Regions from separate parts of the Homo sapiens genome. Here regions 1, 2, 3, 4 and 6 are each linked to region 5. Evidence: promoter capture Hi-C in 16 types of primary human blood cells and fetal thymus (Javierre and others, 2016). All regions are on one chromosome and are shown on one strand. Each heading gives the region's core, a stretch centred on a gene start or on the middle of the fragment in contact. The rest is flanking DNA. Distances are from core to core; before and after follow the strand shown.

What was found. The method cuts DNA at HindIII sites, captures the fragments that hold promoters and counts their contacts. A CHiCAGO score of 5 or more calls a contact.
Region 1: a fragment that was not itself captured here is called in contact with the fragment with the promoter of CPED1 in region 5 in 1 of 17 cell types (monocytes); the score reaches 5.2 in monocytes.
Region 2: a contact is called between a fragment that was not itself captured here and the fragment with the promoter of CPED1 in region 5, in 1 of 17 cell types (naive CD8 T cells). The highest score is 5.3, in naive CD8 T cells.
Region 3: a contact is called between a fragment that was not itself captured here and the fragment with the promoter of CPED1 in region 5, in 4 of 17 cell types (monocytes, megakaryocytes, naive CD4 T cells and 1 more). The highest score is 8.7, in monocytes.
Region 4: a fragment that was not itself captured here is called in contact with the fragment with the promoter of CPED1 in region 5 in 5 of 17 cell types (monocytes, M0 macrophages, erythroblasts and 2 more); the score reaches 9.2 in monocytes.
Region 6: a fragment that was not itself captured here is called in contact with the fragment with the promoter of CPED1 in region 5 in 1 of 17 cell types (neutrophils); the score reaches 5.8 in neutrophils.

Annotation. Positions count from the first base shown.
Region 1 is chr7:121,194,156-121,196,855 of GRCh38, reverse strand. The region is part of intron 16 of CPED1 (cadherin like and PC-esterase domain containing 1); the gene reads right to left. The region is part of intron 1 of LOC124901735 (a long non-coding RNA gene); the gene reads left to right. It also overlaps the pseudogene RNU6-517P. Among named protein-coding and RNA genes, the nearest start is that of WNT16, 130 kb to the left of the region's middle. The HindIII fragment of the contact is 552 bases long and covers 1,033-1,584 here.
Region 2 is chr7:120,783,655-120,786,354 of GRCh38, reverse strand. No RefSeq gene overlaps it. Among named protein-coding and RNA genes, the nearest start is that of TSPAN12, 73 kb to the left of the region's middle. The HindIII fragment of the contact is 267 bases long and covers 1,144-1,410 here.
Region 3 is chr7:120,810,099-120,812,798 of GRCh38, reverse strand. It overlaps TSPAN12 (tetraspanin 12), which reads left to right. Exons shown (of 8, transcript NM_012338.4): 6 at 2,229-2,336. Among named protein-coding and RNA genes, the nearest start is that of TSPAN12, 47 kb to the left of the region's middle. The HindIII fragment of the contact is 2,010 bases long and covers 398-2,407 here.
Region 4 is chr7:121,132,343-121,135,042 of GRCh38, reverse strand. It overlaps CPED1 (cadherin like and PC-esterase domain containing 1), which reads right to left. Exons shown (of 23, transcript NM_024913.5): 13 at 1,150-1,220. Among named protein-coding and RNA genes, the nearest start is that of CPED1, 140 kb to the right of the region's middle. The HindIII fragment of the contact is 2,339 bases long and covers 200-2,538 here.
Region 5 is chr7:120,987,303-120,990,002 of GRCh38, reverse strand. It overlaps CPED1 (cadherin like and PC-esterase domain containing 1), which reads right to left and starts at 1,292. Exons shown (of 23, transcript NM_024913.5): 1 at 1,091-1,292; 2 at 133-612. The coding sequence starts at 381. RefSeq lists an enhancer at 2,037-2,116. The HindIII fragment of the contact is 5,089 bases long and covers 119-2,700 here.
Region 6 is chr7:120,828,625-120,831,324 of GRCh38, reverse strand. The region is part of intron 4 of TSPAN12 (tetraspanin 12); the gene reads left to right. Among named protein-coding and RNA genes, the nearest start is that of TSPAN12, 28 kb to the left of the region's middle. The HindIII fragment of the contact is 1,503 bases long and covers 510-2,012 here.

The DNA.
Region 1 (2,700 bases), core at 59-2,558, 210 kb before region 5:
TAATGAGCTAGACTTGTGGGAAAAGGTTTAAAAATAAAGCTGAAAAAAAAAAAGAAACTTTAGTGTGATCTAAAATTCGGTCTCATCTATTCTCTGTCAGCGTACGGTAGCACGGGGAACTGAAGAAACACTCTTCAGCCTTTGAAAATCAATGTGCATTTATAAGAGAGCTGCTGCCTTTCAGTCATAGCATTTTCCCTGCTGTCTTATAAGTATGTCCTGCACTAAATTTTACATGTCCCCAGACTCCTATTTAATTCTCACAGCTGGGAGACAGGACTAAGTCCAGCCAAATCTGTTTTCCTAGAGTGCCTACAAATCTGCCCTTTAATAATTTATTTTCTCTACTATAATGGTCTCTAACTAAGCTCTAATAGATTTTGCCACACAGTTGCTGCTTTAATCAGAGAAGAGAGTTTTATGGGTTTATTAATCATGCTCTTTTTCAAAAGCTGCTGATTAAGCATTTGCCTGACAGTTGCAAGCAGTCAGAAGGTACAATGGAGGCTGTTTGCTTACTGAGTAGCAGCCTGCAGGTAGCTTTCTCATAGGGCCCACAACAGACTGCATACAGCTAGTGCCAACTGAGCAGACTGAAGTTTCAATTCCCCCCAGCTCCCAGCAGCAGATTGTTCTCAGCAATCTTCTCCCCACCATTTTATTCACCAGGACTATTCCAGCAGCCAATAGCAAAATTCCTTCCTGCTCTCCACATCCCAAAGCAGCTAAATTATTTCTGAAAACTGAATGACATGCTTGGCAAAGAATGTATTCCACCCTGAGGCGCTACTTACAACAAGGTTTTCTTTGGCCTCCTCAAGCAGCAGACCCACTAAACACCATCTCCCCCCGGCCTTCTAGGAAAGCGGCAACCTAAGCCACATAGTCCCTTTATGTGTTATAGTCAAGGCACCAACTAACAGCCAAACAACACAGCAAGGCTTCCTGGATTCAAGAAAACCCCTATTTCTCCAAGGCCAATTTACAGCACACTCATAGGAACACACATTCACACCAAACACCAACCAAGCTTGAGGTTTTGTTAGAAGTCAAGATACCGGTAATAAGCAGCAAGTTGTGTTTTTGAAAGAAAAATTAACTATTGAATGTTTTTACACTGAAGATAAATGTTTTCTTCAAAATGCATAACTGTCTGGAAGTCCTTCATATTTCTTAGATATGTGTGTAAATTTCCCTATTCCCTTAGTGGTTATTACCAAGTAGAGAAGAGTGAAAATATCCTTGAGGTGAATTTAGTAATGATTGGTCCATGACTTATCTAAACTTTTCTACATTTGGTTCCAGAGCAAACATTTAAAGCAGTACTTCATATTCTCAACCTAGCATAACTGTGTTAGATGTACTTCTCCTTTGACTTAAAATGATCAGATTTCTAAAATTAAATTTTTGCTGGAGTTATCAACATTATGTGATGTATCTGTAAACACTAGAAAATGAGCAGTTCTTTGTTTCAATATGGGTTTTCATATAATGAAAGGTGATTTAAAATGATAGTAATTAAACTATGGAAAGAATAAAGCAAAAATATTTTAAAACTATCTTATGTTTCTTCAAAATCAAGCTTTTAACTCTACACAAAGATTTCCTGGGTTAGTATTACAGATACCTGTGTAGATATTTCATCATCATGTCTATTAAAAGTCTGGGGTCTTACATGTTTCTATTTGTATCTCCTATTTTGAAAGAATTAATGGACAAATAAAACAGGAGACTTTAGTATGGTACTTTATACACTGTAGTATACTAAGCAAGAAAATCATAATATTGAAAACTAATGGTGCTCACTTCACCAACACATATACTAAAATTGGAATGATACAGAGAAGATTAACATGGCCCCTGTGTAAGGATGACATGCAACAAATTCACGAAGCGTTCCATATTTTTAAAACAGAAAATTTAGCCTGGCATGGTGGAACAAGCCTGTAGTCCCAGCTTCTCAGGAGGCTGAGGCAAGAGGATCACCTGAGCCCTGAAGGCCGAGGCTGCAGTGAATGGTGAAAGCACCACTGCACTCCATCCTGGGCAATGGAGTGAGCCCACATCTCAAAACAGAAAAACAAAAAACAAACAACTAATGAGAGAAAGGGATGTTTTTAAAAACAGATCATTTTAGTTCTAATGAATTTATAAAAATTAAAAACTTATTTTACGAGACATTAGAAAGTCCCAATACACACATTTGAATTCATTTCTATCCTTCACATCATATTACATTTTTAAATAAGCAATGACACATACTGAGCTTTAAAGCTTGACAGATTTAACAGAAAAACCAAAACCCCAAACCATACAGCTGGTAAATGAAATAATCATCCGTTAGTCTTGATATGTGGAGATCATATATGCTCTGCTTCAATCACCTGAAAAAAATGGTAAAATAAATCTATACTTCAGTCCATTTTAATTAAATTATATTTAATCAGCATTATCCAGGTAGTGCCATGAACAGTTTTTACTGCTATCATTTCAAAATATATTATAGGCCGGGTACAGTGGCTTGTGCTAGTAATCCCAGCACTTTGGGAGGCCAAGGCAGGTGGATCACCTGAGGTCAGGAGTTCAAGACCAGCCTGGCCAACAGGGTGAAACCCTGTCTCTACTAAAATAAATACAAAAATTAGCTGGGCATGGTGGCAGGCACCTGTAGTCCCAGCTACTTGGGAGGCTGAGGCAGGA
Region 2 (2,700 bases), core at 28-2,527, 200 kb after region 5:
TTTGGTTAAAAAAAAAAATCACCATTTTTTAAAAGTAGAAATTTAAGAAGATTATTTTTAGACTGGTTAAAAGTCCATTCAAAGTGCCCTGGAGACTCAGAGATGGCAACAAGAGATGATGTCTGTCCTTAAACACTGTAGAATCTGGGTTAGAGACACTTGTGCTAACCACAGGAAAAATAAATAAGGGAATATGCAGTGAGTGGGGCCCTTCTTAAGAATAAGAGATGGAGTAGAGTGGAATTAAGGCAGCTATGCCAAGGAGATGGCGTTCAAGCTGGATCAGAAGGAGCAGTGGAGTCTAGCTGGCTCATGGAAAATATTCCATGAGCCATGAGTTTGAGGTTAAAAAGTATACATTATTTTGGAGTTATGACTTATGGTTCAATGTGGTTAGATCATAGAATGATTGAAGAGATGCCATGGGACAGGAAATGAATGAAATTTGAGTTTGGGTGCTTTGTTCTGTAGGCCCAAAGTAAAGTCACCGAAGCAATTTCAGAAAGAGAAATGATGAATATTTCATTAATTTAACTGGATTAGCCAAGTGAGAAAGAGGGGACCAGGAGACAGTTATACTTATTTTGCAACTCCTGGGTGGGTGGGCCACCATTGACCACAGCCTAGGTAAGTGGAGCACTTGAGAGTTGTACACACTGCAGGCCCTGGCAGGAGACTGAATAGATTGCTGTTGTTGTGGTCCTGGAGAGGGATAAGGATCCTCACCAGGACAATGGAAGTCAAAAAACAGAGTGCATAAAACAGATCACAACAGGGTGAATCCACAAAAATTGGCAGTAGCTAGACCTCAGGGAGTGTGGGACAAGAAGTAAAAGTACTGAAATTTCTGGATTTTGTGCCTGGCAAATTGGCAATGGCATTAACCTAGATGGAAGACTGGAGGGGAACGAGTATGAGAGGGTAATTAATTTGGTCTGAGACACAGAGTTGGAGATGCCTGCAGGACATGCAGATGGAGATGTCTACAGGCAGCTGTAAATTTCAGTCTGGAGCTCAGGAGAATTCACTGTCAAGCCTGAGAATTTTTATGCATTGCTTTCCCATCTCAGGAAGCCTGACAGAAAATGGGCTGGGAACCAAATCTTATATGAGGAGAATCTTAAATAGATTGCCACAGAAGCTTCCTTTTGTCTGAATTCCCTCTCCTGTGGATGAGTCAAGGGAGGTAAAGAAAGAAGAAATCACTATACTACTGAATCTTCTCTGGCAAAGAAGCTGCCCCTTTTTTAAAACACTGCCAACTGCTATGTTGCTTCACCCAACCCCCTTCCTATTGTCATCCTGAGATTTACAAGCAGATTCGTCTCCCCTGTGAACTGAGTTCTCATTTCCTCACATCCTAGAAACATATATAGGAGAATCTTTGGTATCATCTTGATCTTGAAAGCTTTTCTTTTTCTATTTTTATGTGTTAATTGCAATCACTCTTTACCTCATACTTTCAGGGGTGCGTACTAGGTACCAGGCACATGTAGGAGGTGCTTTACACTTATTTTCTCTGTTCTTCACAACTCATTTGCAATTTGCAGGCACCCCACTTTATTTTACAAATGAACAAGAGGGACTCCAAGAGACTGAATACATTTACTTAGCTAATATGTGGCAGAGCTATACTTCCACTTTCCCCATTTTGTGGCATGGTATCTTCACCAGCCTGTGGTGAAGCTCAGATGATTCTTTACCTAGAAAAGCCAAATTCTCCTACATGTAAATCAATATCACCAGGCCAAATCAAAATGATGCTCTTGTCTAACCTCATTCCTACTATTATTTCCCAAGAACAAGTATAAATTATCTAAAATATCTTGTACACACACATACACACACAGGCAAATTAAGTTCTGTTTTTTTTGAGACAGAGTCTCACACTGTCACCCAGGCTGAAGTCAGTGGTGCAACCTCGGCTCACTGCAACCCCTGCCTCCCAGGTTCAAGCGATTCTCCTGCCTCAGCCTCCCAAATGTCTGGGATTACAGCTGTGCATCACCACGCCTGGCTAATATTTTGTATTTTTAGTAGAGATGGGGTTTCACTATGTTGACCAGGCTGGCCTTGAACTCCTGACCTCATGATCCGCCCACCTCAGCCTCCCGAAGTGCTGGGATTACAGGCATGAGTCACCATGCCCAGCCCAAATTAAGTTCTTTAATCAACTTTATTGAGATTTTATATACATATATATATAAAAACATACTATATATATATACACACACACATACACACACACACACCCCTAATAAATATACCCCTTTCAAGTATATAGTTAATTAGTTTTGGCAACTATATATACTCATGTAACCACAACAACAATCGAGATCTAGAACATTTTCATCGTGTCAAAAAGTTTCCTCTTGCCCATCTGTGATAAATCCTGCATTCCCCTCTCCTAGCCCCAGGCAACACTGATCTGTTAACTATCACTCAGATTAATTCTTGTGAAACTTTATTCTTATCTTGCTGCTTCCTTACTCGAACACTTCCAGAGGTTCCTTGTTGTAAGAAAGGCAGAGCTTCCCAACTCATTCATGTATATGTTATTTATAAGACACGCTAGGATACGTGAAGCTCAGGGGCCACTGGCCACCCTAGGCCTTGCCTGGCTACCATGAGGACTACAAGGAAGCAATAGCTCAATTCAAAATTTTGGCTGCTATATTAGAGATTTCAAAATACCGTGGC
Region 3 (2,700 bases), core at 153-2,652, 180 kb after region 5:
ATTTCACTTCCATTTATTTTATGCCCAAAAGGTTATGAGATAATATTAATTTATGGTGAGTAGCTTGAACTTTGACTAGTTCCCTGAACCTTGTTGAAGGCATATGAACACAAAGTACACCCGTTTAGCCCATTATTTGGGGGAAAAAAATGTGTGCCCAAGTGTTTGGATGTTTTATTGTGTATTTCCAAGTAATCAAAAAAAAAGTTAACAAAGAAAAAAACGAAGATTTTCTGTGGTCAGGAATTTTGAAACTGCTTCTATCGATATGACTATCTTAAAAAATAAGATTTCATAATAATCCTAATCTCTAGTTCTGTTGGAGCCTTATTTGCTCATGTCTCCCTTTTTTCCTTTTTGGTTCTCTATCTTTGTGTTATTTGTTGAATGTCAAGCTTGCTTTACTAAGCCCAGTCTATATTACTTCATAGATCAGATGGGAATGTCCATCCAGTTTCCCAGAGTTGCCTTAATACTGTGTGTGTAATGAGATTTGCATTTGTATACCTCAATTTCTCATGGCCCTGCAGTAAAATCATAGCTTGATATACTGACCAGATTTCTGGCCAGTAATGACTGTTGTATTGTATTGTATTACAACAATGACTGTGGTACTGTATACCTAAAGCTCTGTCATGATTAAATACTCTGTAATAGACATGGTGCTAGGTGATTGGAGAATAGAAGCACAAAAATGCTTTACTTTAAAAACTGTTCTTTCTTTTTAAATTATTTTTAATTTTTTTATTTCAATAGGTTTTTGGGGAACAGGTGGTAGTTGATTACATTAATAAGTTCTTTAGTGGTGATTTCTGAGATTTTCGTGCATCCATCACCTGAGCAGTGTACACTGTACCCAATGTGTAGTCTTTTATCCCTCGTCCCCCTCCCATCCTTCCTCCCGAGTCCCCAAAGTCCATTGTATTATTCTTATGGCTTTGTGTCTTATAGCTTAGCTCCCACATACGAGTGAGAAAATACGATGCTTAGTTTTCCATTCCTGAGTTACTTCACTTAGAATATTGGTCTGCAATTCCATCCAGGTTGCTGTGAATGCCATTATTTTTTCCTTTTTATGGCTGAATAGTATTCCATGGTATATATATTTTCTTTTCTTTTTTTTTTTTTTGAGACCGAGTCTCGCTCTGTCACCCAGGCTGGAGTGCAGTGGCGTGATCTCGGCTCACTGCAACCTTCGCCCTCCGGGTTCACACCATTCTCCTGCCTCAGCCTCCCAAGTAGCTGGGACTACAGGCACCCGCCACTACACCGGCTAATTTTTTTTTGTATTTTTAGTAGAGACGGGGTTTCACTGTGTTAGCCAGGATGGTCTCGATCTCCTGACCTCGTGATCCGCCCGTCTTGGCCTCCCAAAGTGCTGGGATTACAGGTGTGAGCCACCATGCCCAGCTGATATATACATTTTCTTTATCCACTCATTGATTGATGGGCTTGGGCTGGTTCCACATTTTTACAATTGCGAAATGTGCTGCTATAAACATGAGTGTGCAAGTATCTTTTTCATATAATGACTTCTTTTCCTCTGGGTAGATAACTAGTAGTGGGATTGCTGGATCAAATGGTAGATCCACTTTTAGTTCTTTAAGGAATCTCCACACTGTTTTCCATAGTGGTTGTGCTAGTTTACATTCCCACCAACAGTGTAAAAGTGGAGAACTGTTCTTTCTAAAATTCTAACATACCTCTTAATTACAACTTTTGAAAAAGTGTTGATAAAATTATCCCAGAGTGAGGCTTGAGTTGAGCCAAATTCTTTCCCTTCTTAATTCTTTCCTCTTTGTTTTAGTACTATTATCTGCAGTTGCTTCAAAGAGCAACAACTTCATAGCATTTTGAAATCAAATGAAGGACATTTCTCTGCAGAGGTTATTTGTTATGTGAAAGTCTTCAGTATGTCTGTGGGATGTACAGTTAATTACTTGTTGGTGATTTCCTTGAGCATTAAAGTGATTTCTCATTTTTTTCCTTAGTACAAAATACCTCTTCATTTATCACAAAAATCTATACATTGAGATTGTCCAATAACTACATTGAATACTCTGAGCTAAATTTAGGCCATGAGCAAATATAAATTTAAAATAGTATTTGTCAATTAGAAGACATTCCGAGTATGCGTGTGTACGTGTGTGTGTGTGTGTGTGTGTGTGTGTGTGAATCTGTGTCTGTGTGTGAGCTACAGCTGTTGATATTTTGCTTTTTATCACCAGGTTCCAGTACAATGGTCAGATATGGTCACTTTGAAAGCCAGGATGACAAATTATGGATTACCTAGATATCGGTGGCTTACTCATGCTTGGAATTTTTTTCAGAGAGAGGTAAGTGCTACAATTTCTGAGGTAGAGAGAGTGAAGTAAGTGGTGCACCTTCAAACCAGATGTTTAAAGCTTTAGCTTTGGTAATTTCCTCTGTGCTGAAAAATTAAGCCTGTGATTCAGTAACCTCTGGTGCAATTATTTCTTGAAAAATATCTTAGGTAACTTCATGGCCTGCTTTTCTTCCCATGTATACCATTTCCCCTTTATTTCACATGGTTCACATATATTTAAGAACATCTGAAAAGCCATTTTGCTAAATTATTGTGAAGTTTTCTTTTTATGAGAGTTAACTTGATAAATATCCAAGTTCCAGACAAATAGATTTTTTCATGACTTTTAGAGCTCTCAATATTTTAAACATAAT
Region 4 (2,700 bases), core at 120-2,619, 140 kb before region 5:
ACAGAAGAATGGATTTATAACATTTTATTTGATGACTCTAGCTTAATTTGTGTGTCCAGTCCACTCTTATTGCAATAGTAATGAACTCTATTTTTTTAATTTGTTGATAATTTATGTAATTAAATTTTGTATATATTATTTCCTTAAAATGAACATTTAGAAGTAAAATTTCTGATCTATAAAAATAACTTTTAAAGCTTTTCTTAGATTTTAAATGGCCCCTTAATAGAGGTTGTTCTAATTTATACGTCCACCAGCACTATGAGAATACTGATTTCCATACACTCTCTCCAACTTTACTATCTTTTTTAAAGTTTTATTTTAATTGACACATAATTCTGGGGTATAATGTGAAATATTTTGATACATGTATACATTGTGTAATGAATAAATGTGGCTAATTAGCATACCTATCACTTCAAACATTTAACATTTCTTTGTGATGAGATCATTCAAAATCCTCTCTTCCAGCTATTTAAACATATATATTGGTTAACAATAGTCATCCCACTTTTTAATAGAACAACAGAACTTTTTCTTCTACCTAACTATAACCAATCTCTAGCCACCTCCTTCCCTTCCTACCCTCCCTGGCCTCTAATAACTACTATTCTACTCTCTATGAGAGCATAAAACTGGTAAACCCTCTCTACTTCTGTGAGATCAACTTTTTTCGATCCCACATGAGTGAGATTATGGGGTTTTTATCTTTTTGTGTCTGGCTTATTTCACTTAACATTCTCCAGGACTATCTATGTCACAAATAACAAACAACAGGATTTCTTTCTCTTTTGTGGCTGAATAGTATTCCATTGTGTACATACACCCCCATTTTCTTTATCCATTCACTGATGAACACTTAGTTTGATTCTATATCTTGGCTATTGCGTGTAGTGCTGTAGTTAACATCAGAGTACAAATATCTCTTCAACATACGGAGTTCATTTCCTTTGGATAGATATCCAGTAGCAGGATTGCTGGATTCCCTCTCTATAATTTTAAGAAAATCCTTTCCAAATTTAAGGGAAAATAGCATTTCCTCATTTAATTTTCATTTTTGATTGCTAATGAAGCTAAATAGTTTTGCATTTTTTTGCCAGGAAATACTTATTTTTATGTTGAAATAAGTGGGAATATCTATATTTTTACCTTTTTTATTTTCTATTGCATCAAATGGCACTTGTGGTTTTTCAATGTTCTTATCTTCTGTGAAAGAATTCCTGCAAATGCAATGCCAAACAACTCTGGATTAATGAAATGAACAAAACGCGTGGAAATTACATCTAACACACTATCTTTTCTTCTGTATGGGCACAGTTACTTTGATGAACACAAAAAAACGCTTTCTGCATTTCAATCCTCAAAACTGGCAATCTACCCTCAAAGGAAGTAGGTGGAAATCTCATCATCCCTAATCAGTAGAAGCATATTTGAAGAAAACCAGGGTAAAAAGTCCCTCTCAGTCCAAATCTGAGGAATCTCAGATAGCTTGGGTCCAATAGAAGTGATTCAAGAATACACATTCTTATTGGAAATCTGTTTGGCTATAGTTACACTGTTTTGGAGCAAAAAATCTTGGAATCACCAAGGCACAGCCTGAGAAGAACATACATTTAATTGAAGAAATAAGTATACCATGCAGAAAATGACCTATGTCTTGCCAAGTCTTCTACCCTTAAACTCTAATTAACAGTAGTGAATAGCAAGGGTTAGTTAAATTCTGGTGTGTTCACCTAATTTTCTCTGTTGTATAACTAACTAAATACTTGGCCAGATTGCCCTTTAAATCCTCAAATTTGGGACCAAAATAATTTAAATTGCAGACAGAAAAATTGCTGGTCCTGATGATAAAGAACAGCAGGCAGGATCATCTGCAGGCCCCTGACAAGACTTTCCTGTGCTGGTGCAAATCTCCATTTCCACCCCAGCACAATGGAGATAACAATGTTTACCTTACTTCACAGGGATGCTATGAGAGTTAAATACAATTTTCTTTGTTAAATAACATTTTAGAAATATGTATTGTCCCAGATATTGTGCTGCGTACTGTAATGGAGAAGAGATGAATATGACATATTCAGCTCCAAATATAAACATCAGCTAGGAAATTTAAAAGCATCAAGGAATTAAAATTATTGCTAAAGTTGGAAGCCATGATAATTTTTTGCAGTTTTATTTTAAAAACTGTTTATTCCAGGTGACTTTTACAAAAGACACAACCCTGAAATGCACAGAAACTGAAGTTTGGAAAGGTTACTATCTTAATGGAATGAGACACTGTATGTAAAGGCATCTTGCAGTGATTTTCTGCATAATTTTGTGAATACATTGTTTCAAATCCATGTGGATTTTCATTGAAAGCATTTCCTTAGAGTAATGTACAATGCAACTGTACTTCTAGGAAGGTAAAATTAGCACATGGTGCACCACATTGATTTTAAGATTTTCATTCTGTTCAGATTCACACTAATTCTGTTGAGATCTCTGGATTTTGAGCCTCAGGACAAACATATAACTATTACCTGGTATTGTCAAGCTTTCCTGACTTTCTCACCTCGTTGCTACAAGACAATGATCTTTCCTTAAAAGGAAAGATGAAGTCATTGAACACAGGTAATGTACATCCATAAAGTTGACATTTTCTATAGAAAAAACTGTGGTAACCATTGAGAAGATAAGGACAATGATGGCCTCCCTGTC
Region 5 (2,700 bases), core at 43-2,542:
ACTCTCTAGGCTGTTTACACTCTGGATCCCTTTCAGACCTCATGGAAGTTAATTTTAGTTTTATAGAAAGGACAGAGAAGCAGATTGCTGTCTTTGCAGAAACTGTCTCCGTTAAGCTTATGAGAGTCTTACCTTTCTGGTTTCCTGGGCATTACCAGAGAGAAGGAAGCACTGTTTGTCCTGAGAGAATCCTTTCTTGCATCTGCTTGCCTGGGTTTCAGTGGATGTGTGTGGGACAGCCCCAGGGGCAGCGGCTGTGAGCTTCCTCGACCCTCGGAGGGTCAGAGTCTGGTAGAAGAGACAGATTGCCACCACTAAGCCCACCAAGAAGGGTCGGGGGCAAAATCGCCGACGACAAGGGAACACTGGGCGACAGACCATGACCAGTTCAGCTTCACTTGGCCCCTGTCCACGTTGCGGGAAAAGTCATAGCAGCTATTTTTTGTCAGCATGAAAAATACTAATCTGTCTTCTTTTTCCCCAACTCCAATCAAGTTTGCTTCATCCCTGCTTAAGAATTTTCCAAAAGGTTGTGCCAAAGAATCATAGGTCCCGAAAGTCTGAGGCTTTTAATAAGAGCTCTTCCATGGATGACAGTCAAAAGTGGATGACCTGAGTTTAAAAAAAGACATCAAATAATAATAGTTGTAACGAATAACCTGAGTGTACCCCAGGCTGCCAAACTGTTGCTTCCAGCAATGCCTTATTCTCACATCTTTCAACTCACAGTAAAGGAGTCCGACTCTGCCTCAGCTTTGCAGGAAGAGAGAAAACAATACCAAAGTATATCTGGAGTCTGAAAACAGCATTGAAGAACGCAAAAGATTAAAACCCAAAGTGCCTGTTGCACAGCTGAACTCAGGCCAGGTTGCCTTAGCAGTTCCTCAATTTTCCTCCGGTTTTAAAGCAGTCTTGCTTTCAGCCTTTTGTATGCTTCCCTTCATTTAGTTTTAAATTCCCACTGTCCTGTAAGTATTCACGGCTTTTAACATAAAAAGGGCATACGCAATTTGAATGGACATGGTTACTGTCAGGGTTTTTGCTTGAATTTGTTTCATTCCGTCTCAAGTTCAAAGTTCTATGTACTTACTCAGTTTTCATCCTTTTAGCCAGGAAAAAAAAAGTTTCCATGATTTCCTAATGGATTGCTGATGAAAACCACTCGGAAGGAAACACCCAGTCGTATGACTCCAATTCATCTCACACACACACAGAGAGAGACACACACACACACGCACACAGACACATAAACACACGCGCGCGCGCCCGCTGCACGCCCGGCGGGAGCAGAGGACCTCGGCATCGCAGCCACCCGGGGCCGGGCAGAGCGGGGCGGAGCTAAGGCCGGGTTCCTCTGGCCCTGGGGGCTGCTGGAGCAGCGCTGTCAGCCCTGTGTCCGAAACCGTGGGCTTCCCCACTTTGGAAACAGCAGCTAGCATTTCCCCAAATGAGGCTGCCCACCCAGAGCTGCAGAATTTAGAAACGTATCTGATGTCTGATCCTCTGTGCAACTTCTTTTTCCTAATACAGAATTGGAAAAACAAATAGCCTTAGCCAATTGGTGACAAAGGTCGAGAATGAGACTAAAGTGAACTCCATGAGTGAATTGGGATATTCTTCACTCCAGGGAATTGTGGTTACTCTTCTGAGGATAAGAGGGTCACAAGTACTGTCTGGACCTCAGACAGCAAGCACCAGAATAACTCAGTCGTCTCTCTGTGTCTTAGTATGGAACTCAGATCACAGATGTTCTTATTACTCCTTTCCTGGACTAATTAATTGGGTCTTTCAATGATCTGATGCTTCATGGCCTGACATTTTGCTCCTAAAATGAGTCGATTATAGCAGGTGTTGGGGGTAACTTTTGCCCAGTAGATAAAGGTACACAGTGGGCTTTGTCCAGAATCAGCTCAGTCTAATTCTGTGCAGACCTTCGGGTGGACGCTGCTAATAGTGCAATTCTGCAAACCCCCTTCCACTTTTGCTGAGGCTGTCAAGGCGAAAGGAAATCAGTCCTTGCTTTGTGAACTCTGGATACCCAGGGCTGTCTTAGCGCATAGCAGGCATTATTTAAAGGCTCTGGACCTGAAGAGGTTTTCAAACTTGTTTCTAAGCCAAACTCTTGTGGGTTGAGGTTCTCCGTGAGGCCACACCCCTAGAGTGAGCCTCACCCAGAGGCACGCTGCTGTCAGCCCCTTGTATTTTGAGAGACGGAGCGCCCCCTAGGGGTGCCCAGCTAGCACAGATTCAGAGAAATGGGCATCTAGAGTTCCTTGCTTGTGAGAAAGAAACCCTTTTAACATCCTATAGAACAAATTAATTAACACATTACAGAAGAAATATTCACACGGAAGCTGGATTTATCCCAAGCCCTTGCATGTATCGCCTCCAGTGGCTTTAATATTATTTTATGTATAGGTTCAGAGTCCTTAATCTTATGACAAATGGGATAGAGAAAAATAAAGTGATGCTTCACTTTTAGAAGCCAAAAGAGTTTTAAGAGAAAATGGCTGAACAGTGGTGTTGTAGGACATATCGTTTTGGTGGATGCAATGTGATTTGAGAGATAATAAGAATTGTGAGATTTCTAAATTGGAATCCAGGGTGTGACAATGCTGTTACTGAGTGATAAGGAATAGGCAGACAGTTCTATTAAGTTCTGTTAAGGCAAGAAGTCTGAAAAACAGAGTTTGGGGAATC
Region 6 (2,700 bases), core at 12-2,511, 160 kb after region 5:
GCATTCCTATTCATTTCGTTTGGATGTACACTCAGAAGTGAGATTGCTGGATCATATGGTAATTCAATTTATAATTTTTTGAAAACCTCCATACTGCTCTCCATAATGGCTGTACTAATTTATATTTACTCAAACAGTGTACCAGGATTTTTTTCCCCCACAGCCTTGCCAACATTTGTTATCTTTTGTCTTTTTGATAGTAAACATTCTAAGAGCTACAAGTTGATATTTCATTGTGGTTTGAATTTGTGTTTTCCTAACAGTGATGTTGAGCATTTTTTTTCATCTCTTTGTCTTCTGTTGGGTATTTGCATGTCATCTTTTAAGAAATGTCTGTTCAGGTCCTTTGCTTATTTTTTAATTGGGTTATTTACTTTCTTGCTATTGAGTTGTTTGAGTCCATTTTATGTTTTGGATATTAGTCCCTTAACAGATACATGGTTTGCAAATATTTTCTCCTAATCAATGGGTTTCACTCTTCTAATTGTTTCTTTTGCTATGCAGAAGCTTGGTAGTTTAATATTTTCTCATGTGTCTATTTCTGCTTTTTTTCTGTCTGTGACTTTGGGGTCATATTAAAAAATCATTGCTCAGATCGGTGTCCTGGAGTTCTTCTCATGCATTGTCTTCTACTAGTTTTACAGTTTCAGGTCTTACATTTAAATCTTTAAAACATTTTTGTTGTTTTTTTGCTTATGCTGTGAAATAAGAGTAATTTTATTCTTCTGCATATGGATATCCAGTTGTTCCCCTTTATTGAAGATACTTTCCATTTCCCATTGTGTGTTATTGGCATCTTTGTCAAAAAATCAATTGGCTGTAAATGTGTCAGTTTACTTCTTTCTGGGCTTTTTGTCCTTTTCCATTGGTTGATATCTGTTTTTAGGCTACTACCATGCTGTTTTGATTACTATAACTTTATAATATATTTTGAAATCAGGTAGTGTGATACCTGCAGCTTTGTTGTTTTTGCTCAGGGTTACTTTGGCTATTTGGGGAATTTGTAGTACCATAGGAATTTTAGGATTTTTTTTCCTGTTTCTGTAAAAAAATGACATTGGAGTTTTGATTGGGATTGCATTGAATTTGTAGGTCACTTTGGATAGTATGGACATTTTAACAATATTAATTCTTCTAATCCATAAACATGGGATATCTTTCTATTTGTTTGTGTCATCTTCAATTTCTTTCATCAGTATTTTATAATTTTCAGCATATCGATCTTTTAACTCCTCAGTTAAATTTACTTGTAAGTATTTTATGGCTTCTGATGCCCCATGAAAGTATGTCAGCAGATGTCTTCAAAAGTAAATGTTGTGTCAGAGACAGGGGCCAGGAAAACTGTGTGATATTCATGGCCTTAGTGTTGGGTCTTTATGAGAGGATTTTGGCTGTTCATTGGAACTTTGTCTTTCTTCAGGGTTTGAAATATGAATGATTCAAGTTTTTGTATGGTGTACTATGTCACCGTAAGCATTTTAAACCTTATTATAGATTGTTTTTAGATATATACATTTGAGATAATTTTAGTTAAATATAAGCCAAATATTTCCATATCCATTGATTTGGTGACTGTCCTGAGTTTGTGCAAAGTTCAAAGTCAGGTATTTTTCTGGCAGCACATGCTATTGAAATGTTCATTCCACCTGTGAATACTGGTCACCAATTCAGCGAATGCTTCCTTGAGGAGAGTTCAGCAATTGTGCTGTGTTTTCACTTTCTCATTTACTTCCACATGTCTCTCTACTAACTTCCTTTGGCAAACATAAACCAGAAAACATTCATTTAAAAGGAGATGACTGAGGAAACAGTATCCTAAATGTAAAGAGAGTTAAAACAAGAGGGCGGATAACGTTTGTAAAAGTTGAGAGAATTAAGTCATTTAAGCCAGTGAGGAAAGCAGCTTTTAGATGGAATATTTAGAAAAAAAAAAAAATCATGGTTAGTATTTGCTTTATGTGCAATGTCTAATGAAGTTGTTGGCTAAATAAGATTATGAATTAAAGAAAGCTTTTTCTTGAAACTATATAAATTTTAAAAACTCACATTTTTAGAATTGTAATCCATGTGTCTTTTCCTTTTTTCAGAGAAAAGGTAATAGGCTCAGGTTACATGCTCAGGCTAAGATAAATTTTCTCAGCTTAGATGACAGAAACAATAACTTAAATTGTATTTAAAATGTTTTAACACTGTAGTTGTATCACTTTGTATTTCTGTTAAGCAGCGCATTTGAATTATTCTAAAATAAGTGGTTATTCCTGAATTTTCTTTATACAGCCGTTATTTTAGTTATAAAACTTTAAACTTTAGAAACAACAAATTTCCTTAAAATAATGACATTTTAGAAACATAATCTTTAAGAAGAATATGAATACAATTCTAAAGATTTAATGAAATAACAGAATTTTATTAAATGATAGCAACTTAAAAATAATTTCTAATTAAGTAGAATATGAATCATTGCTGTGTCTTTTCCAGTAAACAAGCATTTAAAATATTTTACAGTTTCACATTCTGTATAGGGCTTGCACAGTTGAGTTGAAGCACAGACTGAGAACTTCTAATGAGACAATTAGGGTTTTTTACCTTTTATTATGAAAGTACTTTCATTCCGAAAGTTCTCTCTTTGTGTTTTTAAAGGTACTGTAAAAAAAAAAAAAAAAAAAAAAGGAGAAAGAAAAAAACACTAAGGAACAATCG